Regions from separate parts of the Homo sapiens genome. Here all the other regions are linked to region 1. The links are contacts of gene promoters, found by promoter capture Hi-C in blood cells and fetal thymus (Javierre and others, 2016). All regions are on one chromosome and are shown on one strand. The core of a region is centred on a gene start or on the middle of the fragment in contact, and the rest is flanking DNA. Distances in the headings are between cores, read along the strand shown.

Region 1 (3,877 bases), core at 787-3,286:
GGCTAGGTGAAACCCCGTCTCTACTAAAAATACAAAAAATTAGCCAGGGGAGGTGGCAGTCGCCTGTAGTCACAGCTACCGGGGAGGCTGAGGCAGGAGAACGGCGTGAACCCAGGAGGCGGAGCTTGTAGTGAGCCGAGATCGCGCCACTGCACTCCAGCCTGGGTGACAGAGCAAGACTGCGTCTCAAAAAAAAAAAAAAAAAAAAAAAAAGAATATGAAGTCCCTAACACAATCCTTGGCACAGCATAGCTTTGCAAAATAAGTTAGTAGTTATTGGTAGCAACAGAACAAACGGTTGAGGGAAAGGAGAGGTGAACTACATAGAGATATAAAAAATGGCCTCTGTAGGCCGGGTGCAGGGGCTCACGCCTGTAATCCCAGCACTTTGGGAGGCCGAGATGGGCGGATCACCTGAGGTCAGGAGTTGGAGACCAGCCTGGCCACTATGGCGAAACCCCGTCTCTACTAAAAATACAAAAATACCGAGCATGGTGACGGGCGCCGGTAATCCCAGCTACTCGGGAGGCTGAGACAGGAGAATCGCTTGAACCCGGGAGGCAAAGGTTGCAGTGACCCAAGATCGCGCTATCGCACTCCAGCCTGGGAAACAAAGAGCGAAACTCCGTCTGAACTGGCGGGGGAGGGGGGGGGGAGGGAAATGGCCTCTGTAAATTGGTGAGGTTGGAAATGTGGAAATGATCGTTTTTAAAATTAAATTGCAGATATTAAATCTCATAGTACAAAGAATCAGACACTGCATTAGAACCTTTTTCATTTCAATGTGCCATAAATTTCAACTCCACAAGTCAGATTCAGAATACTAACAATTAAGTTATGCAACATAGGAATCCAAAGAAACAAGAATACTAAATTTGATGGCCTGCTCCCCTTTAAAAAATGTCTTAATGGAGCCTAACCTTTTCCTTTTACTGACAATTCTAAGCAAAACAAAGCCCCACTCTAAATCCGCGGGAAATGGCCCTACTTCAACATTTGAACTATAGTAACAATTATAATCTTTCACCTTCTCTGAATAAAGACACTCAGTAATAAGGAAAAGCAACTACCAGTTTAAGTCTGAAAGACTGTTTAGAGTTTATTTCTTTCAAACTCCAATATGTTTAAGGCCATTTGTCTTACTAGAAAATGTCCAAAATTGCAAAACATTAAAATAATCAGCAACTTTAGACTGAGTATGTTATTCGTAATTTCTGCCTTTCTTTACTGTCTAATTTGTATTTTATGAATTTGTCATAGAGGAGCAGACCTGGGTCGGAATCCCAGCTCGCCATCGTTGGTGTGACCAAGCACAACCAACCTCAAACCTCAGTTTTTGGTAAGATGGGGATAACACCTCGCAGAGGTGTTTGTTACGTGAGGACTAGAGGGAATATAAATCTCTTGGTATTTAAGTGCTCGAAAATGTTTCTGAAAGGGACGTAGGGGTCTTTCCAAAATACACTCCTTGGAGGCACAATAATTAAGGCGTAGGCTCAATTATGCAACACAAGCAACCTAGGAGTTAGAAGCACGGGATCTGGCTGCAGCTCTGCCAAGTATGCAAGCTGCAAGAATGACCCAGAGCGAGTTACTTAATTTCGTGTAAGAAGCAATGCGTGGCCGCTCCTAAGCCATTTCCACTGGGATACCGACCTGACCAGCCCCTGCCCCCCACTCTCCGGCTCTCCCACCCCCCCACCCCGTTCCGACTGTCCCAGAAGCAGCAAAGAAAGCTGCTTCCCAACTGAAGAGCCGAGACAAAGCTTCCTTCTCTTTCTGCCCCTCTGAGCCGCTCGCTGGGGGCCCAGTTTCAGAACCAAGAGCCAGATCCCGTCTTGGGCGCCGAGCCTCGCGCGCCCCCGAGGATAGCAGCCTAGTCCCATGCCATGCACTCCCTCCCTTGGACTCAGGGCCCTCCGCTCAACGGGCCCTACCTCGTTCGCCATGTTCACGGATTCTGGTCGGCGCGGGGGGCTGACATCCGGGGTGGGCCGCGCAGCGACGGAGGCATGGGCGTGGCGAGCGCCTAGCGAGGGGGGCGGGGCGTGGGGGGGGCTTGCAATGGCTCCAACCGGAAGGGCGGTGCTCGAGCTGTGGTGCGTGCCGCTAAGTTGTGCGTTCCAGGGTGCACTCGCCGGCGAGGCTGCACGGCGCCGGTTTCATTGCTAAAATCCGACGGACTTGTTGCAGAACTCGTTTTTTTTGTCGGGAAAGGGCTTCCCCGTGTAACTTTACAGCAGTTATCGTAGATAAGACTTGCAAATTACAGATGTGGACGGTGAGGGAACGGGAATTTCACTGAAAGCGCCTGAGAACCAGTAAGAGACCTGCAACAGCTTTGTGCTCCACTGGCGAATGCTTCCTCCCCTAATACACATTATGTGTGCTTGGAGACACAAGGAGTAAGATACAGCCCCTCAAGGGACTCGTCATAGGGAGAGGACACAGCTTTGGGAATAAAGGGGCCACAAAGGAGGAGAGAGGAGTTTGCTGAAACTTCCCAAGCTCCCATTCCAGCAGTTCCTGAAGGGTAGGTAGGATTTTGGGGAGACAGTAGAACGTGGGCAGAGAACTTTGGAAGGAGGAGATGAGGAGAACAAAAAGTCTCCTGATCCTGGACAGTTTTTTGTGTTAAGAGTGGGCCAGAGTGTAGAGAGAGAGAATGTAGTATTTGTCGGTTTACTCTTTCTTTGTTTGTTTGAGACGGAGTCTCGCACTGTCGCCCAGGCTGGAGTGCAGTGGCGCGATCTCGGGTCACTGCAACCTCCGCCTCCTAGGTTCAAGTGATTCTCGTGCCTCAGCCTCCTGAGTAGTTGGGATCACAGGCACACGCCACCACGCTGGCTCAATTTTGTATTTTTAGTAGAGATTGGGAGTGGGGGCAGGGGGTTGGTCTCACCATGTATGCCAGTCTGGTCTTGAACTCCTAACCTCAAGTGATTCACCCACCTCAGCCTCCCAAAGTGCTGGGATTACGGGCATGAGCCACCGCACCTGGCCTGCCAGTTTACTCTTAAACTCTGTTGTAAACGCTGAATTTTGTTAAAATAGCTCTGTCAGACACACTGCTCTTTTCTGTCTTTCAGTCTTTTTCTTGGCTCTTTTCCGGGTACATATGGTAAGATTGTCCAAAGTCTTTCCGTCCTTTCACTCCACTCTCTCACTCACACTTTGGCTTTTAACGTCTATTTATGGAAAGATGACTACCAGATTATTATCTCCAATCAGGATGGCTCCCCTAAACTCCAGACTTGGACATGTAACTGCCTACTGGATTTCTGTCTCCATTAGGATATCTCACAATCGAATGCAACTCCTAAAACTCCTATTAATATTTTCTCCTTATAGGGACTCTTTCCTCTGTGTGTTGACACTCTCCACATACTTACCCTAGCCAGAAACATGAGAGTCACAACTTCTCCCTCTCCCTCGGTCCCTGCATTCAGTTTGTCACCAAGCCCTAAATATCTCTCTGGTCTTGTGCCTCTCTCTCCCCACTGCTGCTGTATTAGTTCAGGCTTTCATAATTTCTTACAGGATTACTGAAAGAGCCTCCCATCTGATTTCTTTGATGCCAGGCCCTTGAATCTAATACTTAAAAAGGAATGCCCTGTTAGTGATCTTTCCAAAACGTAACATCAATCAATGCCATTTCCTATTTTCCTTCAATAATTTTTGAATGAGTTAGGCTATAAATAAATAAATAAATAAATAAATAAATACCATTCTTCTATTTAAAAATATTCAAGGGAGAACAAATGGATAAAATCCAAACTCTTTAGGCCACTCAGGCTCTGAATTACTTCCTTCTGTATATACCTCTATCCTTATTTCCTGCTCTCCTGCCAAATTTCACACCAACATTTAAGGAACA
Region 2 (3,877 bases), core at 556-3,055, 970 kb before region 1:
CTTATAGGGTCAGTGGCAATTCCAAAGACTGCTGTGCCAAACAGAACTTAAGGAAGAGAGAGAACCTAGCCAAACAACACTTTCTCTTGCTAAAGTAAGTGCTCCAGATCACCTTTCAAATGCAATTACCTAATACAACCATGGATTTTAAAGTACATAGGCAGTTTTGATGGCAGAAAGAATGAAATTTCCCATTTATGTTAGAGTTTATTTTTAACTCAGAAATAAAGCAGAACATCATAATTGTGCATATTTTTTTCTACTATATTATGACCATAACAGACAGTGAAGTACAAAATGTGAAACTACATTCTAATATAATATAGTCATGCTGGATATTTTAGACATTGTATATATTTCACACAAGAACATATCTAATATGTTGATTTACTATAGCCTATACATTTGTCAAAAAATCAGTATTTTAAAATACAGCATTTTGATGTCATCTTTTACATCACATTTTTATAGCCTAAAATCATGTTAAGGTTTTGTATTAACTCTTTTAATGCAAGGATTCAAGACCTTGAGCAGGATTCTATTGAAGAAGCTTTCTTTAAGTGAATTTACATTATTGAGATTTTATGATTCAATTGTTTCACAATTCTAATAGTAATCCAGTAGGAGGAAAGATTATGTATGTGTACATGTGCACACACACACAATTTAAGACCCCACAATAATATCCATTTTTTTTTTTTTGTGTGTGTGTGTGTGTGTGTGTGTGTCTACAATAATATCCATTTCATTTAAACCACATGAATTGACAAGTACTTAACTCATTAACCTCTGCGGTACTCAGGTAGATGTTGAATCAGAAATTTAAAAGGCTTTTAAAAATACAGACAGAAAACAAAGGATAAATTGATGCACTCTTATCTCTAAATTACAGTTTCTTTTATGTCAAGAAGTGTTGGCAATACCAACTTCAAGGTCACTGTCAATTTTGAAAATCATTAGCAAATAAAATATGACTTAATTGAAGCAAACTCAGCATGGAACTGCATTATTTTAAGTAAATGCTATATTATAATTTGAAGAAGAATTACTAACTGCCACTCTCACTGACAATTAAATAAATGAAGATGGGGCTATGCAACTTTCCCCCATGTCTTTCCATAATTAAATATGGAAATAGAATTTGTGAAGAATTAAAAGGCCCAAAGTGCAATAATTCAAACACTAATGAACTGTTTTCCAGTGTGGCAGCACACAGGTAGTTCCCAGCATGTTATCATTAGCAAATATGTCAGTATCATCATTCCAATCACAAACTTTGCTTGTGAAATACACCTCTGAAAAATAGATTTCTAATAGTTACCTGGGCTCTTCTAAAAGAAGAAAGAAGCTAAACTTTATCATTCAAAATGTTATATAAAATAACTTTTTTGTAGAATTTCTCTTCACAAATTAAATTTAGCTAAAGTTTAACATTTGTCACTTAGAGTCTTACACAACTCTTAATTCTGTATTTAAGCTTTATTAGACAGCTTCAGCAGATGTGATTCACCAGTTAAGAAAGAATCACAATAATTACCCATCTATTGGATTATTTTCTTAATTTTCTATCAATATGCACCTCTGGAAACTAAACCCACATATAGTATTAAATATTATTTCAAAAAGCAAGCAAAGAGTTACCCAGAATTATCGAAAATTCAGATAAGATTTGAATTAACATTATTACAGTATCAATTTGGCAGTAGTTTGTGAAGAACCTGTGTTTTTCTGCAGGAGAAACAGAAGAAAATAAAGCCTTCAGCTACTGAGCTTTGCCACGCTATCTCTAGTTCTCTCAAATACAAGATGAGGATTTCAAAAAATATCACAATTCCGTTTGTATTAAACTTTGCTGAATCTTCTTGAATATTATGAACTATGTCTTTAACTGATACAGAAAACTACGTTTTTATATGTTTTTAAATTACATCTAGATTTTTATTCCAATAAATAAATAATAAGTTGTATTGATTCAATACTTATTAAATTAGGCCATCAAATAAATTAGGTCATCAAATAAATGTCTTCTTCTTCTTCCTTATTTCTATAAATAATAATTTAGCCAGGAAGTAATCAAGTTTTATATGTCTAAGTAATGCTTATTCATGTGGGGAAAGGATTTTATACATGCAGGGAAGCTTGGAGGCATCATTGTGGCCTTCTAATAGATGACACATTATTCTGAAACAAAAAAAAAATAGCTTAAAGCAAGAATTACATTTTGAGATGTAAGTTATGAGTGATTAGGGAATTATTAAGCTAAAGCCAAGAATCTATGACTAATTGTGAAGAATACTTATTCCAATATGTTAGACCATAGTTATTTTTCTCAGGATATTTTAGGTAAGGAAACTGAGCACAAAGATTAAGTAACTTGGCCAAGGACTAATAACTATTAAGTGGTAGAGTCAGGACACATAACCAGGAAGTCTGGCTCCATTACACTTCTTTGCATAACTTGTCCGTCACCTTGGGGAGAATATCCTAATATCAAATCATAAGACCATTTCACTGGAGTTTTTACAGAATTGAACCTATTGTTCACATAAGAATATCTTACTCAAATATTTAAGATACTTAAATATCTTAATGAAGATTAATTGTCACATTGTTATTAATAGGATGATGGGACAGTCAAGGCCTAGAAGACCAGGTATGTCATAGAGAGAGAGAATGAAATATTCTTGAGACAAAAACTCCCATGGCCAGAAAGAAATGGGAATTCTTATGGTTAGAAAAGGAAACATGTAACTTATATTATCCTTACTTTTCATGTTACCAGAATTAATCTGGTTCTTCAAAAGTTTTATAGCATGAAACAATCCATTAGTCTTAAAATATCTGCCTACTACTGTATTTAAACACAAAATGTATTATTTCTAGTTTGTTCCATAATCAATAGGAATTCTTCTAAAAACTTAAAAATCAAAAATTAAATAATACTGGCTTATATATTTACCTTTATCATTGTTCTTTAATTATTTATGTGAATTTGAGTTATTGTCTGATAACATTTCATTTCAGCCTGAAGACTCCATTTGGTATTTCTTTTAGGGGGTGTGCCAGCAACAAATTCTGTCAGCTTCCATTTATCTGAAAATGTCTTAATTTCTCCTTTATTTTCAAGGAATAGCTTTGCTGATTCTGGAATTCTTGATTGGCAGTCTGTTTTTTCAACACTTTGAATAAGTCATCCCCCTCCCTCTGACCTCATGATTTCTATTAACCTTTTGGAGGATTCCTTCTATATGATATGTCACTTTTTTCTTGCTGCCCTCAAGATTTTCTTTTTGTCTTTGGCTTTCAACAGCTTGACTGTGATGTGTCTAGGTGTGCATCTCTTTGCATTAATCTTACTTAGAGTTTGTTGAGCTTCTTCTTTCTGTAATGTTTTTTCATCAAATTTGGGATGTTTTCAGCCATGATTTCTTCAAATATTCTCTTTTCTCCTTCCTCTTTCTCCTCCGCTTCTGGGATTCCCATTATGTGTATGTTGGTATACTCGACAGTGTCCCCTAGATCTCTGAGGCTCTGAATACTCTTCTTCATCCTATTTTCTTTCTGTTCATCAGACTGCATAATATCAATTGACATGTCTTCAAGTTAACTGATTCTTTCTTCAGCCAATTCAAATTTTCTTTTGGGCTCCTCTAGAAAGTTTTTCATTTCCATTATTGTAATTTTCAAATCCAGATTTCTACTCGGTTTGTTTTTATAATTTCTATCTCTTTATTGATGCTCTCTATTGGGTAAGGCACTATTCTTATACTTCCATTTAGTTCTTCAGACATAGTTTGCTTTATTTCTTTGAACATATTTAAAATAGCTAATTTAAAAATTTTATCTAAGAAGTCTAATGCCTTGGCTTCCTCAAGAA
Region 3 (3,877 bases), core at 611-3,110, 840 kb after region 1:
AGGAAAACATTTACAGATAGGCTGAGATGGAAAAAGGAATGGTAAGCAAATAGTGTGGTAAATATGAGAGTAAATGTGAACAATGAGTGTAAAAAATAATTCTTATCAAGGATTTGCTTTTTAATAATCTGGGGAGGAGAAACATAAAAGTAGGGGTAGAAAGAATGTGAATGAAATAAGGTTGGCCATATATACTCATAATGGTTCAAGACAGGTGAGTGATTGGGAGTGATTATACTATTTTTTTCTCCTTTTGTGTGTGCTTAAAACTTTCCATAATAAAAGTTAAAACTAAACATAAAAAACATTAACAAAACTAATGGAGAAAAAGGGAAATCCATCATCATTATGGATTTTAACACATTTCAATCAGTAACTGATATAAGGTAAATTTTAAGAAATCATTGAGGATACAGATGACTTAGACATCAAATTTATAAGCTTTATCTAAGAGATATAACATTATACCCAACTAGTGAATATCTCTTTCTCACAGGCCCACATTATCGCTAGACCATAGAGTGGTCCTTTTCAAATCTCAGAGAATTATTACCATATATATATATATATATACCACAATCTATGAGCACAATACAGTTATATGAGAAATCAGTTACAAAAAATGTAACTAAAAAAATCATAAATGGGTTGGAAAAGAAAAAACAAAATAAAAAAATCTAGACAGCTTGTGTATCAAAGAAATAACTACAATAGAAATTACAAAATACTTAGAACTGAATAGAAATTAAAACACCAAATATCAGAACTTGTGGGTCAACAACTAGCCATCCACATGCAAAAGAATAAATTTGGACTCCATCACACTGGACACAAAAATTAACTCGGAATGGATCATGAATCTAAGTGTAAGAGCTAAAGCTTTAAAACTCTTAGAAGAAAATACAGAAGTAAATCTTCATGATGTTGATTTAGGCAAAATATTCTTAACTACAGAAACAAAAGTAAATGTGATAAAAGGAAAACAGAGAAAATGGGCTTTATCAAAATTTAAAACTTTTGTACTTCAAAGGCTATAATCAACAGAATGGAAAAAAAAATGTTTACAAATAACATACCTGATTTTCAAAAAAAAGTATCCAGAATATATAAAGAATTCTTACAGTTCAGTAATAAAAAGATCAAAAACACCGGTTAAAAAAACGGGTGAAGGATCTGAATAGACAATTTCTCCAAAACAAACAAACAAATGGTCAATAAGCACAAAAAAAAAGTTGCTCAACATCATTAGCTATTAGGGAAATAAAAATCAAAACCACAAAGAGAAGTATCACTTCAAACCCACATCCAAAAGATGAACAATAGCAAATGTTGAGAAGGATGGGGAGAAATTGGTACCCTAATAAGTTTCTAGTGAGAATGTAAAATGATGCTGCTACTTTGAAAAAATCATCTAGTAGTTCTTTAAAAAAGTAAACATAGTTACCATTTGACTCAACAATCCCATTCCTAAGTACATATCCAAGAGAAATGATATACAAAAACTGATTCACAAATGTTCATTGCAACATTATTCACAATGGCAAAAAGATACAAACAACCAAATATCTATCAACTGATGGATAATGATATATCCAGACAATGAAATATTTTCAAAAATAAAAAGAAACAGAGTACTGATATGTGCTACAACATGAATGGACCTTGAAAACATTATGCTAAGTGAAAGACTCCAGTCACAAAAGATGGTATACTATACGGTTCCGTTTATATGAAATGTACAGAACAGGCAAATCTACAGGGACAGAAAGTAAATGAATCATTGCCAAAGCTGGGGGTGCAGGGGAGGGTGGAACTGGGAATAAATGAGGAGTGACTGCTAAAGAGTAATGAGGTGTCTTTTTGAAGTAAGGAAATGTTCTAAAATTGATTTCCATAATTGTTGTGCAGCTCTGTTAAAATACTAAAGAAACACTGAATGGTATAATTGAAATGAGTGAATTGTATGGTATGTGAATTATGTCTCAATAAAGCATGTATATATATATACACACACTCTCAATATTATGTCTCAATAATGTCTCAATAAAGTATGTATATATATACACACACTCAACTAGGTACCAATCTAATCAGTTATTAATGAGAAATATAACATAAACAGTCTTTTTTTTTTTTTTTTTTTTTTTGAGACTGAGCCAGGCTGGAGTGCAGTGGTATAATCTCGGTTCACTGCAACCTCCGTCTCCTGGGTTCAGGCAATTCTGTCTCAGCCTCCTGAGTAACTGGGACTACAGGTACCTGCCCCCGACACCTGGCTAATTTTTTGATTTTTTTTTTAGTAGAGATGGGGTTTCACCATATTGGCCAGGCTGGTCTCAAACTCCTGACTTCAAGTGATCCACCCGCCTTGGCCTCCCAAAGTGCTGGGATTACAGGCGTGAGCCACACGCCTGGCCAATTTTTAAACTATAGTCTGTATTTAGTCTGCAATCGCAATGAACGGAAACCAGCATGGTCTAAGGGAGGTAGTGGTTCACAACATTTAGACATAAAAACTTTTGTGGGAATTCTGGAAAAAAGGCTATGACATCAGCTTAAATTTTAAATCTCTCCGAATTCCCTCATAAAGTCAGAGAAAACCTCATGCACAAAATCCCAAAATATAAGGTGGGGAAAAACCACCAACTGCCACAAGATCTGTGTGGGCAGTGGAGTATAATACAGGGGCATTTGCCAGCCCACAGAACATAAAAAAAAATTAAAAATAAAAATAACCAACAGGGACTCTCTATATAGCACAACAGGCAAAACTGGGAAAAGTGTGTAAAAAGGAATGAGTTTTGCCTACTACAATAGTACACAAGTGCACGGGTCCACAATAAAGCTTTAAAGGCATGGAAGACTCTAGTCACTACATGCCCTCAAAAATAATCAATCAAAGCTCTCTTCCACAACAAAGCCACACCAAGAAGAAACTCCTGGGAACAGGACCCAAACTGAAGAGGACAGGGAAAACAAAAAAAATGAAAAGAGAAACTCCAGATAAAAGTAGGGAAGGATAAAGGAATGAGAAGATCTCATTTAGCAAGGTGACATTTTTAAACATTACACAAAAACAGAAGGATCTCTACGTATTTACCAGCACATAAAAATGAGTAAAAGAAAATGACAGAAGTCAAATCTGATACAAAATTATAAGAAAAAAAGGATGAGTATGAATTAAACCTCTGAAGACGATAAATACACACCATAAACACTTGCTAACAAAACAGATGAACACTTTAATACTTCAAAACAAGCTGAAAAGACTAAAAAATAATGCATGATATAAAAGAACAATATATATCAAAATTACAACATCAGAAATTACTGGCCAGATGCAGTGGATCACATCTGTAATCCCAGCACTTTGGGAGGCTGAGGCGGGTAGATCACCTGAGGTCAGGAGTTCAAGACTAGCCTGGTCAACATGGTGAAATCCTGTCTCTACAAAAATACAAAAATTAGCCGGGCGTGATGACCAGTGCCTGTAATCCCAGCTACCCGGGAGGCTGAGGTGGGAGAATTGCTTGAACCTGGAGGTGGAGGTTGCAATGAGCTGAGATTGAGCCACTGCACTCCAGCCTGGGTGACAGAGCAAGACTGTCTCAAAAAAAAAAAAAAAAAAAAAAAAAAAAAAGAAAAGAAAAAATTATCTCTCAAAAACTTATGTGATAAAACTCAATAAAAAATAAGACATTTTAAAAAATCAATTAAAAAAAGACTAAACTAGAAGAAACTAGACTCATAAATACAACAGGATAATGCTTAAAAGAGAAAGAAAATATACCAGAAGGAAATTTAAAACATTTTTTTAAAAAGTCAAAAAGACAAAAAAATTTCAAGAGAAAACAGCAAATATTAACAGTAAAGATCC
Region 4 (3,877 bases), core at 932-3,431, 800 kb after region 1:
AACTGTACTTACTTAGATACTGTGAAATTTAATAATACAAGGCATGTAAAGTGTAGGCTGGCACATAATTCAAAAATATCACTTATTAACTAATACCAGTGGTGTCAATTGTGCACACTGACAATGACATAATTTATCACTAAAGTACTAAGTTATCAGTGAGAATCCCTGGGAAATTAGCAATTAAGAAACATATGGTAGAGCACAAATATACTGTGTTAAAAAATATAAGGTGACACTCCTCGACTTTCAACATTTATGCAAAACCCTTTCATTGTTAACATAAATCTTATAGTCCTGTAACTATCTTATGGTATCTATAAACTACAACTCAGAGATATGTTCAATGTCCCTACAGCAACCCGGAATGATCTATTCTTTGTGTTAACTTTAATGTATTAACTAAGGAATAAGAAATACTTATATTAACCTAATGTTTAAATACTGACATTAAATTTTTTAAAATCCCATTGTCAAAAACTTTTAAGTCAGAAAAGTGTTATTAAATATGAATGGAAAATGTTACAAACAAAATCATTTGTCTTCCTTACATTAAAAATAAGAATAAAATAACTTTATAAATGACTTTTATACTATTTTTATCCTATTATTGGCATGATTTCCTAATCATTCAATCCTAAACTTATTTATAGATTAAAATATATCTCTAAGATTAATACATAACATAGGCCGGGCACAGTGGCTGACGCCTGTAATCCCAGCAATTTGGGAGGCCAAGGTGGGCAGATCACCTGAGGTCAGGAGTTTGAGACCAGCCTGGCCAACATGATGAAACCCCGTCTCAGCCAAAAACACAAAAATTAGCTGGGTGTGGTGGTGCTTGTCTGTAATCCCAGCTACTTGGGAGACTGAGGCATAAGAATCGATTGAACCTGGGTTGCAGTGAGCCAAGATTGCGCCACTGCACTCCCAGCCTGGGTGACAGAACGAGAGTCTGTCTCAACAACAACAACAAAAAGATTAATACATAAAATAAATATATTCTTCTAAGTTAAAAACTAGGTTATATAAAACATATACTACAGATATTTGTACATAAGCCAATTATTTTGTGCAGTTACCAAAAGCAACATCATTTGAAACAGTAAAGCATTACAAATCCAACTGTCCATCAAGAAGGACAAGGTAAGTTATGATATACACCTACAAAGGAATACTCTGGAATACTCTGCAGCCATGAGAAAGAGGAAGTTCTCTATGTACCAGGAAAGATTACTCTCAAAGTTACATTCTTAAGTGAAAAAATACACAGTTTAGAACAGTGTATAGAAGAAGCAATAAATTATGTACCAAAATATGCAGGCATATGTGTATGTTGTGTGTATAAATACGTGTATATACATGTCTGCTCATAGGTACATAAAATATCTCTGTAGGTAATGGTGGGTGCCTCTTTGAGGGGAAACTGTGCATGTGGCTGGAGAGGAAGGATGGGCAGCTTCTCACTCTATGTTCTTCAGTTAAGTCTTGAATCTGAACTCTGTGAATGTACTACTTACCCCCAAAATAAATTAAAAAGCAGGTAAAAAGAGGACCACAAAAATGTTTAGAAAAATTAGTGCCACCACAGGTAGCTTCTTTTTTTAAATTTCCATGGAAATTACTTTAAATACAACTAATGCTCCAAAGAAAATAAAAGGACTTTCTTTTTGATGGACTTCACAGAGAAATGAATCAAGAAAGTAGAAAAATTACTTACACTCTTAAGTATATAATTTTAGAAATCAGGTCACAAATATAAAAGCTGTTTTCAATTCTACATACAATGCGCAAAGAGTAATATAAATAGAATTTACTAATAATTAAAAATAACTGGCTCATTAAGAGATACTACACTTTTAGAAGAAATGAATTAAATTTTGTGAAATATTCTGAAGAAATCTAAACCTTAAGCTTACTAAAACAACCATTTTTTTCTAAAAACAAATGTTGCATTACTAATCAAAGACATCGGATTTAGTTTTATACACATAATTATGAAATATTTGGTTGTTTTAAAACATACAAAGTGGGATTATTAAAGCCTGAGACTGCTTTGGGTCACAACCAGATTTTAAATTGCAAATACAAGAACGATATTTTGCAGAGAATTCAAAAAACGCACAAAAACACACATTCCATTAGTATCCGTAGCTGGCTGACTTTGTTACTGAGAGGCACTGAGGTACAACAGTTAAAAGCATGAATCCATGGCTCTGAAGCAGGATGCCTGCATCCAAACCCATACATCTAGCAACAAATCAAAGCGTATATTCTACTATTCTTCATAAATGTTCAAAACATTATTATTTCTTCATTATTACTGTTCTGGGATGCAATAAGCCTATTTTCAATAAATGATATAATGAGTTGAACTGGCTTTTTTTCATTATTAAAAAAAAAACTGACAGTACTAATACCTTTCCTGCCATTATGAAAGATTTTCATAAAGCTTTTAACAAATATCCTTTAACTGAATTTATTTCTTGGATAAGCACAACAACCTGATATTTCCCCTTTTGTTAAAAGATAAGAGACATCTAAATTCAAAGAAGAAGCAAGCATTTACTTTCCAACTATTTTTGATCAACATTAGAACTACTCAGTAATATAATAAATACTTTTGGTATTATTCTCTAATTCCTTTACACAGACAGCTTCATCATATCCAGTGTCACACGCTATTATGATTTTGAGAGCACACTTAATAGTTAAAATGAGATCCCCATTGTCTGAAACATTTTTATTGCTTATAATCACAGATGATGTAATTAGAATCAATTATTGCTTTATTAGATCTCCAGGTGACTAATGAGTATCTTTCTGGTCGGTTTATAACTTAAGAACATTGAATGCAATTTTGCTGTTTCTTCAATAAGAGATGCTAACACTCAAAAGAGGACTGTAAATCACTAAGACTTCTAAGTGAATTAACTATGTACTATTAACTATTTCATCATATCACCAGCGTAGTGGGGTATCTCTCCGTCCCAATTTGAGCGCCCTTTCATTACGCTAAGGTAACTACAGAAAAACACAGAAAGCCCTCATTTTGCATAGTTCCAATATGCACATTTTAGTTACTATGGTTAAGTAATACCACTCCCTGCAGAAGAGCACAGGTCAAATTTTAGTTAGCATGGCATAATACCTCAATAACTACGTAAAGTATAAACTTTTCTAACTCTTTAGTCCACAAATCACTACATAAATAATTATGTAATTAACAGATGCACACTGTCATCAGTAACCAGCCACATCATTTCTTTCAAAGTATGTTGATGGTTGGTCACTGTGCATCTGTTATGCAGCTCATGCAGAGATAGCAAAGCATGTAGTTTTGTACCTCCTTGTCTCCCAATGATAAAGTATGTGACATTTAGAAAAAGAGATAATAAAAAGAGGAAACTGGCCAACAAAGACGAAATACAGCAAAGAAATGAAAAGTAATAATGCTGAAATTTCAAATAGAAATGCTGAATTTCAAATAGAAAGTAAAGAATTATAGAAGAAACAGATGACCAAGGGAATGCTGACACTATCGCTCTAGATACACAGAGAACTCAGTGAAGGCAAACTTATTGACATAAATGAGGAAAGCGGTTGTGACGAAAATTTTCCAGAGGACGTGAGGCTGGCAAAAAATATTCATATTAAAGGAAATCTCAGAGATACTTCACAACATGGAAAATACAGACAAAATGCTTCATAAAATTAACATATGGCATATAGAATTTATTCAATAACAAATTAAAAATTTCTTACCTTGGTAACTTTTTATACAAGAATCGCTTTAGGTCCTGAAAGAGAGCATTAAAAAATAATGTTGTAATAATAGGCCTTCCACTGTTTTCTAGATCCTGTCCTATCCAAATTT
Region 5 (3,877 bases), core at 1,008-3,507, 800 kb before region 1:
CGTGTGCATGTGTCTTTATAGCAGCATGATTTATAATCCTTTGGGTATATACCCAGTAATGGGATTGCTGGGTCAAGTGGTATTTCTAGTTCTAGATCCCTGAGGAATCACCACACTGACTTCCACAATGGTTGAACTGGTTTACCGTCCCACCAACAGTGTAAAAGTGTTCCTGTTTCTTCACATCCTCTCGAGCACCTGTTGTTTCCTGACTTTTTAATGATCGCCATTCTAACTGGTGTGAGATGGTATCTCATTGTGGTTTTGATTTGCATTTCTCTTAAGGCCTAGTGATGATGAGCATTTTTTCATGTGTCTGTTGGCTGCATAAATGTCTTCTTTTGAGAAGTGTCTGTTTATATCTTAACAGCAAGCATCTGTAGCCGCAGCAGCAGTGAAGAGAAGCATGATTTTTTTTCATATCATTAGAAGTCAGTGAAATGGGGAATAACTGGAGAATTTGATTATAATACAGTAGTCCCCCTTTATCCACAGGGATATGTTCCAAGATCAAGAGGCATGATTTTTGTGCTTAAACTTTTTTAGCTTGCTAAGAAGTAAGATAATTTGAATGGTGACTGAATATGTGATAATTATACAAGGTAGCCCTTTTTTTACTGTAGATATGTCACCTACCCATGAAAATGGGACAACTTATTTAATTCTCAGCAATCACAAAATTCTAAAATCTTTTGGAATAAATTTAACATTAAAGAATCTATATAAAAATAGAAACTTTCATGTTTATCAAGGTATAAACAAAATGTGGGAGCCTAGAAAAGGAAGGTTCCTCTGACTGCAGGAATACAGAAAGCTTCATGCAAGACTTGGCATATTAGTTGACTTCGCCAAGTAAGTAGCCATGCTAGATGTGGAAAATGCACAGAAAGGAATTTTAGAAAAGAATTTAATTCTCACAATTGTGAAAATGAAAGTGTGCTTGGGAAAAAGCCAATAATGTGGTGGGACTGACACACATGATGTTGTGTGAGAAAGTAATGGGAGATGGCATAATGTGAGTTGTAAAAGTTTCTGATCGGTTTAGGACCAGCTCTGGTAAACAAAAAAAAAAAAAAAAAAAAAGAAAGAAAAGTAGGAAACTGAAAATACAACATAGTAAAACTGAAAATATTATAATTTTTAAACACAGTCCTTTCCACTTGACATGCTAACAGAAACTACTATTCCTACTTCATTAGAGAAGCTTTTAAAAATAGCTTCATTCTGTCAGATACTAAACCCTTTAGATAAGTAAAACATAATATTCAAGAGAGATTGCTATTATTTCCAGCTGCTAAGCCAGGTGCCCCAAATTGACTTAATGCCATTCATTTTGAGATAAACTTGAAATTCTTCCATTCATGCATTGGCTGTATTCTAGGTACTTGAAAACCACATTAGCACAGAAATATTTTTTTTTTTGGATTTGATGTGGATAGTGATGCTTTCAAAGTAAAGCTTTGTTACTAGATAGTTATGTGAAAATAATAGATACAGAAAAAAATTGAGTGACATTTGAAGTGAGGTAAAAATGTCTTGAACTTTTACAAGCTCAGTTAGCAGTTCTTGTGTACTTGTCTCCTGTCGGTTTTATCATCAGCAATGGTATAATTGTCCAAAGATAACAAACACATATCTATCTATATACCCATGTATCTACTTACTGGCATATAGTAAAGTGATAGAATTGATTAACATTTAAAAGTATGAAGTTTTAGATCCAATAACCTTGAAAATAAAGCTACCATTTCTGAATAATATTGTGAGGAAGATAAACTGAAAAATGCCACCACAAATAACATAAAGAATTTCATGACTTCCTAGTTTAACATGACACTGTCTTGAGATTTGTTCTTTGGGACAGTCCTTTCTTCACAGTCAAGTGTATTCTTTGTTGTTGGTGATGATCTTAAGTACTTTTATGGTCAAATTATTTAAATATTAAAACAGCATCACTTTCCTCATTAGTTTTTCTTAGATTGATGTTAAGAAAGGAACTGATAGCTAAAAATTTAGGTCTTATGAAAACTCTTCCATTGCAGCAAGTACTTACAGACCAGTAAATAATTTGTTTCTGGTTTATAGAAGAGAGGTTGGAGCATAAAGAGCCTCTGGTGCCTAAGATAAAAGAAAAAAAAGGCTTGGCAAAGTTTGAAGGTTTTAGTGGGAAAGTATAGCTGTTTGTCTTTAACAGAGACTTTTGAGAAATGCGAGGAATGATAGTTAGCTGTTCACGGTTACCAGAAGTTGCATCAGGTTTTATCCAAATGTATCAAGGCCTAAAATGTGGTAATTCTTTATATTGATAGGGACATAAAGCAAGTGGTCTGTCCAGCTGAATAAAAGAAGGGAGGACAGAAGGAAAGAGCATACCATCCTAATATTCTGAAGGGCATGCATATATTATTCAGGAAGAGAAGAGGCTCTGTGCACAACTGGGGTCACACTAATATTAAAGGGGCAGATAGAGAAGGAAGATCTATTGAAGAAGACCAAAAACAAGTGTTTAGACTGATGTTTCTAAGTTAAGAGGTGTTTCAGAAATGGAAAAACTGTCTATTGCTACAGAGATATCAAACAAGAGGATTGAGAAAAATTCATTGGCTTTGTCAAGATATCATTTAAAACCTTTGACAGAGTAATTTTGATAGGCTTTTAGAGGACTTGGTTAGATCAGGTTTTAAGGAGCGATTGAGTGGGTAAGAAGTGGGAGACTCAGAATTTTAATGACCAAGTCAACTTTGCTTTAACCCTTTGAAGATGTCACATATTTCACAAGACGAACTAGACCATATGTTGATATATAGGAAAGAAATTGTTTTAAGAAAAAATTTTATTTTATTTGTTAATACTTCTCCATTTCTATCTCTACTTACTGCCTCATTACCAGCCAGAGGCTGACAAATTTTCATTAGAACAATTTCAGTGCTTTTAAGGAAATGTAAAATACAGCTCTCTGGAATTACACAAAAAGTAATTTGGATGCTAAGGATTTACTACTGAAATTTACTGTCATGGTTTGAAGGAGTACAAAAATAATATCCTCTGTTTCTTACCCAAGCTTAGAACCACTGGAGATATAAGCATATGAGTCGTCTGCTAGAATTTAAAATATCTGCTTTAAAATTAATAAAGTCTAGAGTTAAGGCCTCTATTTGTAGAGTCACAATGGGATTACTAGTAATTTACTGCTGAATTATACATATTTACTCATTTTGTCACTGTACACCTGGACAGCCACAGGTGTAGAACAGAAAATTCTTGTTGTTTCTAAAATAACAGGAATGCAGAAGGGGTTGAGCCATACATGTCCAGTAGTCCTCAGCCTTAATCAGATAAATCAGATAAATCTTTCCTCTTCTGGAAAATGGAAGCTTTCATATTGTTTCGGCTTAGCAGGGCAACTAACCTTTAAGGAACTGCCAGGTGTCCAGTTTTAGTATATCAGTGAATATCCGCAATTATCTGAAAAGGCTGTTAAAATACTCACGTGTTTTCCAACTACGTATATATTGAGACTAAATTTTCTTCATCTATTCAAACCAAAACAGCATATTAACCAAGATTGAATACAGAAGAAGATACGAGAGTCCAGTCATCTTCTGTTGAACCACATTATGGAGATTTTTTTTTTTTCCTTTTTTTTTTTTAAGAGATAGGGTCTTGCTCTGCCACCCAGGTTAGAGTGCAGTGGAGCAATCCTAGCTCCCTGTAGACTCAAACTCCTCAGGCTTAAGTGATCCTCCCACTGCAGCCTCCTGAGTAGCTGGGAATACAGGCACATGCCACCATATGCAGTTAATTTTTTTATTTTTATTTTTCTTAGAGAAGAGGACTCACTTTGTTGCCCGGGCCGGTATCAAACTCCTAGCCTCAA
Region 6 (3,877 bases), core at 583-3,082, 770 kb after region 1:
ACACTTCCTCAGTTTTTCCTTAATTTCGTGACTTTGACACATCTGAAATTAAAGACCAGTTATTTTGTAAATAGTTTCCCAACTTTGGTTTATATGATATTGAATCATGATTAGATACAGGTTTTTTCATGTTGGCTACAAATACCACAAAAGTGATGCTTTGTTTGTGCTTCTCACTGTGTCTTCTCAGATGGAACACAATTGCAATCTGTCTCATAATGGTGTGTTTGATTACTTAAGTGGTGTCTGCCAGGTTTCTTCACTCTAAAGTCACCATATTCCCTTTGTTATTAAAAAATGTTTGGGGTGAGGTTATTTGAGACTATAAGAATATTCTGTTACTTATTAAATTTTTACTTGCCAATTTTAGCATTTACTGATGTGTCTTGGCTGTTTTAATCATTACTATGATTGTTACCAAACGATGACTCTCTGATTTTCTTATTCCTTTTTACATTCATTGGTTGTCATTCTACTGTAAGGAAAAGCTTTTTATTCTTCAAAATTTTCAATCATTTTTATATCAAATGGTTATAATCATGACTATCATTATTTATTTTGATCCTTCAAAATTTCCCTGATTTGGCCAGTCGGGGAAAGAGCCCTTTCAAGTGGTGTCTGTGTTCATATGACCTCAAAAAAAATTTTTTTTTTTTGGAGACAGTGTGTCACTCCGTCACTCTGTCTCCCAAGCTGGAGTGCAGTGGTGTGATCACGGCTCATGAAGCCTCGACCTCCTGGGTTCAGGTGACTCTCCCTCCTCAGCCTCCTGAGTAGCAGGGACTACAGGTGTGTACCACCACTCCTGGCTAATATTTGTATTTTCATTTTTTTATTTTTTTTTGTAGAGTCAAGGTTTCACCATTTTAACCAGGCTGGTATCGAACTCCTGGGTGCAAGCAATGCTCATGCTTCAGCCTCCCAAAGTGCTGGGATTATAGTTGTGAGCCTCCGTGCCTGGCCTGGCCTCAAAATTCTTTTAAGAACTTTCTTACTTTCTGAATAGCAAGATGATCCAGACTTATCTTGTTCTTTCTTTGTACCCAGCTCTAGAACCAGCTATTTCTCCAAGAAACTCTGCTCTTTTTCCACAGAATAGTACTCTAGAAATCGACATCTAGGTACTATGTGCTTATTGTTATCAGGATGTCACTCTCCCAGCCCACTCAGTGAGCAGAGCTGGGAAAATATGTATGTATATACATATGTACACATATATACTTTTACATCTGTATTTATCTGTCGATTCATTCATCGATCCATGAGTTCACAACAATGCTTCCAATACCACAAAGTTCATTCTAGTGTTTTCCCTTCTCCCACAGTGAGAAAATATGGATCTTATCATCCTCAGTACACTTATGTGGTGATCAATTGAATATAAGCAATCTCCCATTGCTGTTTCTACTACTCAACCCTTACCCCGACACTCCAACCACCCAGTCATGCTTCAATGCTCAGTTCCAGGCCACTGCTGCTCCCACCCTCACTACAGATGTCCACCTAGCCCAACTTGGCTCTGAAACTGTGCAGTAGCTGCCACCTCCACCCCTTCAGGCAGAAGCCCTCCACACCCTGCCAGGCTTCAATGCCTCGCACACAGCTGCTGCTGCCACTGTCACTGCCAGTGTCCACACAGAGGCTCCCTGTGCCCTACTTGGGCTCCACCACCCTGTACTAAGGTGCTTGAAAGCCCTCCACACACACATCAATGCCTGCCTTGCTTCACCTGAACTGTGTTGGCTACTGACTTCATTTAAGGCTGGCAGGCAAGTAGGTAGTAGGATGGCAGGAAGGACAGTCCTTTGTTTTTGAACATTTAGATGGTACCCCAATGGGGGCTCTTATAAACAGCTTTTCTGTTACAGTTCATAGATTTTTAAAGATAAATGTGCTCTATAATTATTTACTTTCTTACATCTGGAGACCCTGAATAAAATTAATAGTCTCATTGCTTTCCCATGCAGCCTTTGGCTTACCTATCAAAACCTTAGAAGAATACTACACTTATAGTACATTGTTTGGGTGGAGGTAAGATGGGATTATTCCCTAGCTTGATTTTAGTAAATAATTCTATCAGGATCTTTTATACAACAATTTACTCCTAGTTATTTTGCCTCTACAGATTTTAACCTGCAACAGCCCAAAATAATTACTTTTTGCCATTCCTATAACACCTGAATTCAACTGAGTCAATTCAATTTATTTAATGTTAAAATAAATCACACCAATTATGAGATATCAAATTCACCAATATTGATTAATATTATTTAAGTGAACATTTGGTTAGTTTATCCTTACTTTTATATCATAAGATTTTAAAAGAAGTGTTTGCTTATTTCCTGCTTTAACTCTTTTTATTGTGGTAGAGATGGTTGTTCCTCTTTTTATTTGGTTGGGAAAATTCACCTTGGAAAAAAATATTCTGGAAATTACCATAGAAAGAACCTTGGTGTCAACCAAATCACTTCCCAATTTTTGTTAATTTTGTTTCTTACTAAGACATATGATGACATCACATTTGAACAAAATATTCTACCACGAATTGAATTTCTTGTGGAATTTATGAAATGATAAATTTCTTGATGTTAAGCTACTTGTCTTATGCAAATTTCTGTTCACACAATTCTCCACCCTTATATTTCGTAGGTGTTAGCTAAGTGTGTGCTATTATTTTTACGTTTGAATTAATGACAACATGAGTTAAAAGAACTGGCTCATTCTTATTTCAGATTCATTTTGGGTAAATCAGGTGTAAATAAATCTACGCTCCTGACAGTCTGTTTTTTGGAACATGGATCTCAAGAGAGTGTGGGGGTGGGGAGGAGGATTATGTGATAAAATAAATAGTAAAAATGCTATTTCTAAGGTTCCCTCTTAAAAATTTACAAAGTATATTAGCATAATACAGACTCTGGGAAGCCCTGAAGTAAAAACATCCTTTTAGTTTTCTTAATCCAGTCTCCCAAACGTATTGACAGTAGATGTGTGCGTGTTTATGTGCTAATAACCCTGTAACAATCCAAACAGCTGGATTTCACATGACACACCTTGACAAACACAGACTTTTATAAGTGAAATGATGTCGTTTATTGTTTGCAAATTGCTAACTGGAGTTAGGAGCTACAGAATGATGCCAGTAGATCCAGTCTGAAAACAATCTCTCACAACACATGGAAGCTTTTCAAGTGCCTAGGTGAAAAATGATAGACAGTAATTTAAAGATCAAAAGCAAACATTCTTCATTTAAAAATAGGACATGAAAGGAAGGACAAACGTCCTGTTGTGACAGTTCTGGTCTTCACTCAGTGCTTTTCTTTTTCAGCTGGGCACCAAAGAAGGTTACCTCACCAAACAGGGAGGCCTGGTCAAGGTAAGGAAGTGTGGTTTTGCTCATGCCAGCCACAGAAAAAAGAGAACACGTCATGTAGACTCAATTCTCATCTTGATAGTTTTTCTTGGAAGCATAATTGCCTGCTCATTTTAACCCATTTGTAATATTCACCTGACTCAAGAGTTCATTTTTATGGCTCATTAGTCAAAATTCTGGAAAATGACTTGACTGTTCTTTGACAAAGCCCTGCATAGGTGTAGCCTGCAGTTAAAAGTCAATAAAACATAGTCCTCATAATGGAATGATTGAGGATGAAGATAGCAAGTTTACTCTAGAACATCTTTCGTTCTTCTTCTAAAACAAGGAAGAAGTCAAAATTGTATAAAATGTTTCTTTAAGGATAGGCCAAAAACATCACTGATGCTACTGAAACTATGTTATAAAATCCAAAGAAAAACACAATTTAAGCTCTTACAAGTTCAGAGTATCCAAATGTTCCCCATTTATGAGACTGTATCTTTAGAATTCCTTTGTTTCATCTCA
Region 7 (3,877 bases), core at 867-3,366, 760 kb after region 1:
TGCTCCTTCCTGGGCCTTCTCCAAGTTAGGGAAAAGATACATATTCTGCCTACTGGCAGATTTCAAAACATTTAAGATCAAAGTGAAGGCAGTGCTTTCTGGTTGAACCTTTCTGGCACTGATCCAATCATCAGGCAAGAGGATCACCTAAGGATGCGCCAAAATAAAGATGTTTTGATATTGCATTTGGGACAATGATAAGCTTCCTTGTAAATACACTGTTCTGAGTAAAGAAGCCTTATGATTGATGCATTAGGGATTGTAAGGATTTGTCATCCAGACTTCTACAGTAGTTTCTCTAAAACTCAAACCTGCTGTATTATTATCTTGACTACAATTGCCATTTTATTTATTACAATATAACTCAGGAACCTAATATTTTTATCCTCTCCACTGCCTCTCCTCTGTTCTATTCATTATCCAATGAAGAATTTGCTGCTGTTTGAATTCCTGCTTTCGGCCCCTCGTGCTGATGGATATGCACTTGACTTGCTGGCTTCCAGCCCTTGAGTTAGAGTCCACCAGCTTTATTCCTCTTATCTGTCCCAGCCAGATGAAGGGAAAGCCATCAGGGCTAGGAACAACAGGCAAAACCCATGACAGATGAGTGTTCAAATCTTGCCCCTCTGGGAGTAATAGGCCTTGGGAAACAAGATAATGTGCTCAAGTCATGATGACTTGTAAGCCCAGAAATTCCTCAAGGTTACGGAGTCAGCATTGCAGACTATAAAGAATGGTGAATGGAAACTGACATGCCACCTTCTAAAAATAGGCCTTTTCTTCTTGTTCATTTAAGCATGGGCTCCTAGTATTGGCTCCCAGTGATCAGAAGATCTTCAGGCTAACGATTTCATGTTCACCTTCAGATGAAGTACAGATATTTCTTTCTTTTTTTTTTTTTTTTTGAGACGGAGTCTCGCTCTGTCGCCCAGGCTGGAGTGCAGTGGCGCGATCTCGGCCCACTGCAAGCTCCGCCTCCCGGGTTCACGCCAGAAGTACAGATATTTCTTATAGCTTATGTTTGATTAACATCACCAGGAAAAGCATTTGTCCACACAATGGACAAGCCCCTCCCAGGGCTCTCAACTTCAGATTACCAGAATGACAAGGACTAGAATTGGATATTTCAGGCCACTGCTCTCAGCCAGACCCCACCCAGGCCCAGCCTCACCCTGCAGGGTCTAGAGGGTAAGTTTATTAAAGAGTGACTTTCTTATAATACATTTATCTACTGGCACAAGTGGTATTACCTTTGAGGGCAACAGAAATGATATCCAAATAGCCAAAACTTTACACTTTTGCCTTGCAGTTATATATAATGCCTTCAGTAGAGTGAAACCCAGAATATTTGATTTTGGGTCGTAAGAACATTTTTGCACTCAAAATAGATAAAAGTGTTGACCTAAGGGGATTAATGCTATTTTAAGATATCTTTTTTTTCTATTCCCTACTCTTTACACTTTTAGGATTTCTGTTTGCTAATCTGAAAAGCAAGGATTTCCTAAGCAACATCTAAGCCTCTTGACAACTTTAAGAGTATTTTATGATAATTTCCCTTTCCCTTGCCATAATCTCTATTTCATCTCTCTAATCTCCATTAAAGTTTCTGTTCACTCTAATTTCTTTTTATCAATACCCATAAACACTCTTAAGATACTTCCAATTCTCAAAACCTAATAATTTCCCAAGTACATGATAGAGATATACAATGTACTCTCTTGCTTTATTTTTCTCAATGGCCCTTTTACCTTCTGACATCTATAATTCACTTATGTTTTTTAAAAAAATACCTTTTTTTCCACACTAGTGTGTGAACTCCATGAAGAAAGGGACTTTTGTCAGCTTTGCTTCCTGCTATGTCCCAGGACCTGAAAAAATAAGTACTGATCATTTCCACAATATGTCATGCTGGATGCCCCATTTCCAATGCCTGCATTGCAGTTTTTTGCATGGCAACATCAAAACTAGCAAACTTGTGACAATTTTAACTTTCAAAGTTTATAAAAACATAATTTGAAATGATATTTTGTGTTGCATGTATGCTCAGTGATGATTAAATTCAGAATTTGCCTTTCATTTGTGATAGTGTTGCAGGACTTTTCCTTAGTTCAGCTAAAGATCGGGTCCCTCTCCATCCCACGGCCACAAAAATTTAGGCTCGCAGACGGTTTGAAGGGTGAGTGAAGCAGGGTTTTATTGGATGAAAAGAAAGAAAAGAGGGAAACAGGGAAGCTAGAGCGCTTCCTGCCCAGCAGTTTGAATTCTATGTTCCTCACAGGAAGAGGAGGGGCCAGGCTCCTCCCCACTGCAAAGGACACGAACTTCCTAAGGCTTCACCTCAGTGGGCAGGCCGGTTGGAGTTTTTCTGTCTCAATAGTAGGATATCAAATAAAACATATTCATGTCTGTGCATGAACTCTAAACTAAACTCAAATAGACTTGAAAATTTGAGAAACTTTTTTATTAGTATAAATATGTTTGGTCCATTATTAATTTTGTCGTAGCCTCTTGTAATTAGCTAAGTTTCATATATATAGTCTTGAAAATGTAGACGGCATTTATCTTTATGCTTAAATGTCTAAATATGATTAGAACAAAAAATTACTTTTACCATTACCTTTTGTTTATGTTTCAATAATTCTTAACATGAAATTGCCATGTATAATTTATTACATTGTATTGTGACTGTAATCACCTAACAGGCATGAAAAAATATAATACAAGTCAAGTTCTATGTTTGTGCTTACCCTTTATAATAATTGGTTCCCAATTTTAAAGATCTCATCTGGTTTTTTGGTAAATGTCAAATCTCCATTTCTCTTTTTGTTTTGATATGGGGATTCCCAATCTTTTGACGACAGCTACCGCTATTATTATTTTGTTTTGTGACACCACCCAGGTGATATTTTTAAATAATGTGGTTAAAATTAATTTTAATTTGAGAATTGGGTGGTTCTTCAGAAAACAACTAGTGACAACTTAGAATTTTTCCAAACTTCCTTGGATGTTTGCCAAAAATACAAAATGTTCTCAGTTTATAGATGAGTTTTATTCGAAAAAGGAAAAAGCAGCTGAGGAAGGGAATTAAGCCAACATTTTTAGAGTGTTTGCTAGGTTCCAGGCATTCACCTACATCAACTTATTTCATCTCAGCCACCCACAATAATGCATACAACGGTCCTATTTTCAGATGAGGAAAGGAAAACTCAGAGGTTTTAAGTCACTTGCCCAAGTTTTCACTGCTGGTAAACATCAGGGCTGAGATTGGAATCTGGGCTAATCTGGTTCTAAAGCATAGATGCTTTCCATGCACCTTGCTATCTTTTGAAACTGGTCCCACAATAACAGTACATTGTTGCCATGGTACAGTGTGGCCTTAAATGGATTTGGAAGAACTCAGAGCTGAGATTGGAATCTGGGCTAACCTGGTCCTGAAGCATAGATGCTTTCCAGGCACCTTGCTATCTCTTGAAATTGGTCCTACAGCGACACTGCAATACATTGCTGCCATGGCACAGCATGGCCTTTAATAAATTTGGAAGAATTTCTGCTACAATAATGTAGTAGAATGATTGTAGGATATGGCAGGGCTGTAACACATGTCTTAGTCCTATCCCTCAGTCTCTTCTTTATCTCTTCTTTAAAGTCTACAATAACATGTTTGGTACATGAAGTAAACCTATTGTTCTAAAGAGTGTGAATCAACTTTAACTTCTGCCTTTGTATTTATTGTTATTCCCATTTTATTTACATGAATTGCTATTTCAGAAATTATACCAGAGGAAACTTTAAAACATAAAAAGGCTGAAAAGAAAACATCCCCCTAAATATACAGGCTCATCTTAGTCATGTGTCTTCAGCAAGGATATCAAACAGC

What was found. The method cuts DNA at HindIII sites, captures the fragments that hold promoters and counts their contacts. A CHiCAGO score of 5 or more calls a contact.
Region 2: a contact is called between a fragment that was not itself captured here and the fragment with the promoter of ADH5 in region 1, in 1 of 17 cell types (activated CD4 T cells). The highest score is 5.3, in activated CD4 T cells.
Region 3: a fragment that was not itself captured here is called in contact with the fragment with the promoter of ADH5 in region 1 in 2 of 17 cell types (naive CD8 T cells and fetal thymus); the score reaches 5.8 in naive CD8 T cells.
Region 4: a contact is called between a fragment that was not itself captured here and the fragment with the promoter of ADH5 in region 1, in 12 of 17 cell types (total CD8 T cells, non-activated CD4 T cells, activated CD4 T cells and 9 more). The highest score is 13.5, in total CD8 T cells.
Region 5: a contact is called between a fragment that was not itself captured here and the fragment with the promoter of ADH5 in region 1, in 7 of 17 cell types (total B cells, fetal thymus, naive B cells and 4 more). The highest score is 7.1, in total B cells.
Region 6: a contact is called between a fragment that was not itself captured here and the fragment with the promoter of ADH5 in region 1, in 2 of 17 cell types (M0 macrophages and monocytes). The highest score is 6.5, in M0 macrophages.
Region 7: a contact is called between a fragment that was not itself captured here and the fragment with the promoter of ADH5 in region 1, in 3 of 17 cell types (total CD4 T cells, non-activated CD4 T cells and activated CD4 T cells). The highest score is 10.1, in total CD4 T cells.

The regions. Positions count from the first base shown.
Region 1 is chr4:99,086,752-99,090,628 of GRCh38, forward strand. It overlaps ADH5 (alcohol dehydrogenase 5 (class III), chi polypeptide), which reads right to left and starts at 2,037. Exons shown (of 9, transcript NM_000671.4): 1 at 1,938-2,037. The coding sequence starts at 1,949. LOC100507053 (a long non-coding RNA gene) reads left to right here and starts at 2,106. Exons shown (of 10, transcript NR_037884.1): 1 at 2,106-2,533. RefSeq lists a promoter at 1,982-3,235 and a silencer at 2,020-2,069. The HindIII fragment of the contact is 7,789 bases long and covers 1,765-3,877 here.
Region 2 is chr4:98,114,065-98,117,941 of GRCh38, forward strand. The region is part of intron 3 of STPG2 (sperm tail PG-rich repeat containing 2); the gene reads right to left. Among named protein-coding and RNA genes, the nearest start is that of STPG2, 27 kb to the right of the region's middle. The HindIII fragment of the contact is 661 bases long and covers 1,476-2,136 here.
Region 3 is chr4:99,931,180-99,935,056 of GRCh38, forward strand. The region is part of intron 1 of DNAJB14 (DnaJ heat shock protein family (Hsp40) member B14); the gene reads right to left. Among named protein-coding and RNA genes, the nearest start is that of DNAJB14, 14 kb to the right of the region's middle. The HindIII fragment of the contact is 1,966 bases long and covers 878-2,843 here.
Region 4 is chr4:99,888,235-99,892,111 of GRCh38, forward strand. It overlaps LAMTOR3 (late endosomal/lysosomal adaptor, MAPK and MTOR activator 3), which reads right to left. Exons shown (of 7, transcript NM_021970.4): 3 at 3,766-3,800. Among named protein-coding and RNA genes, the nearest start is that of LAMTOR3, 4.3 kb to the right of the region's middle. The HindIII fragment of the contact is 538 bases long and covers 1,913-2,450 here.
Region 5 is chr4:98,288,493-98,292,369 of GRCh38, forward strand. All of the region lies in intron 1 of RAP1GDS1 (Rap1 GTPase-GDP dissociation stimulator 1), which reads left to right. Among named protein-coding and RNA genes, the nearest start is that of RAP1GDS1, 29 kb to the left of the region's middle. The HindIII fragment of the contact is 1,603 bases long and covers 1,457-3,059 here.
Region 6 is chr4:99,858,253-99,862,129 of GRCh38, forward strand. It overlaps DAPP1 (dual adaptor of phosphotyrosine and 3-phosphoinositides 1), which reads left to right. Exons shown (of 9, transcript NM_014395.3): 5 at 3,326-3,373. Among named protein-coding and RNA genes, the nearest start is that of LAMTOR3, 34 kb to the right of the region's middle. The HindIII fragment of the contact is 2,692 bases long and covers 487-3,178 here.
Region 7 is chr4:99,841,965-99,845,841 of GRCh38, forward strand. The region is part of intron 3 of DAPP1 (dual adaptor of phosphotyrosine and 3-phosphoinositides 1); the gene reads left to right. Among named protein-coding and RNA genes, the nearest start is that of DAPP1, 27 kb to the left of the region's middle. The HindIII fragment of the contact is 3,832 bases long and covers 201-3,877 here.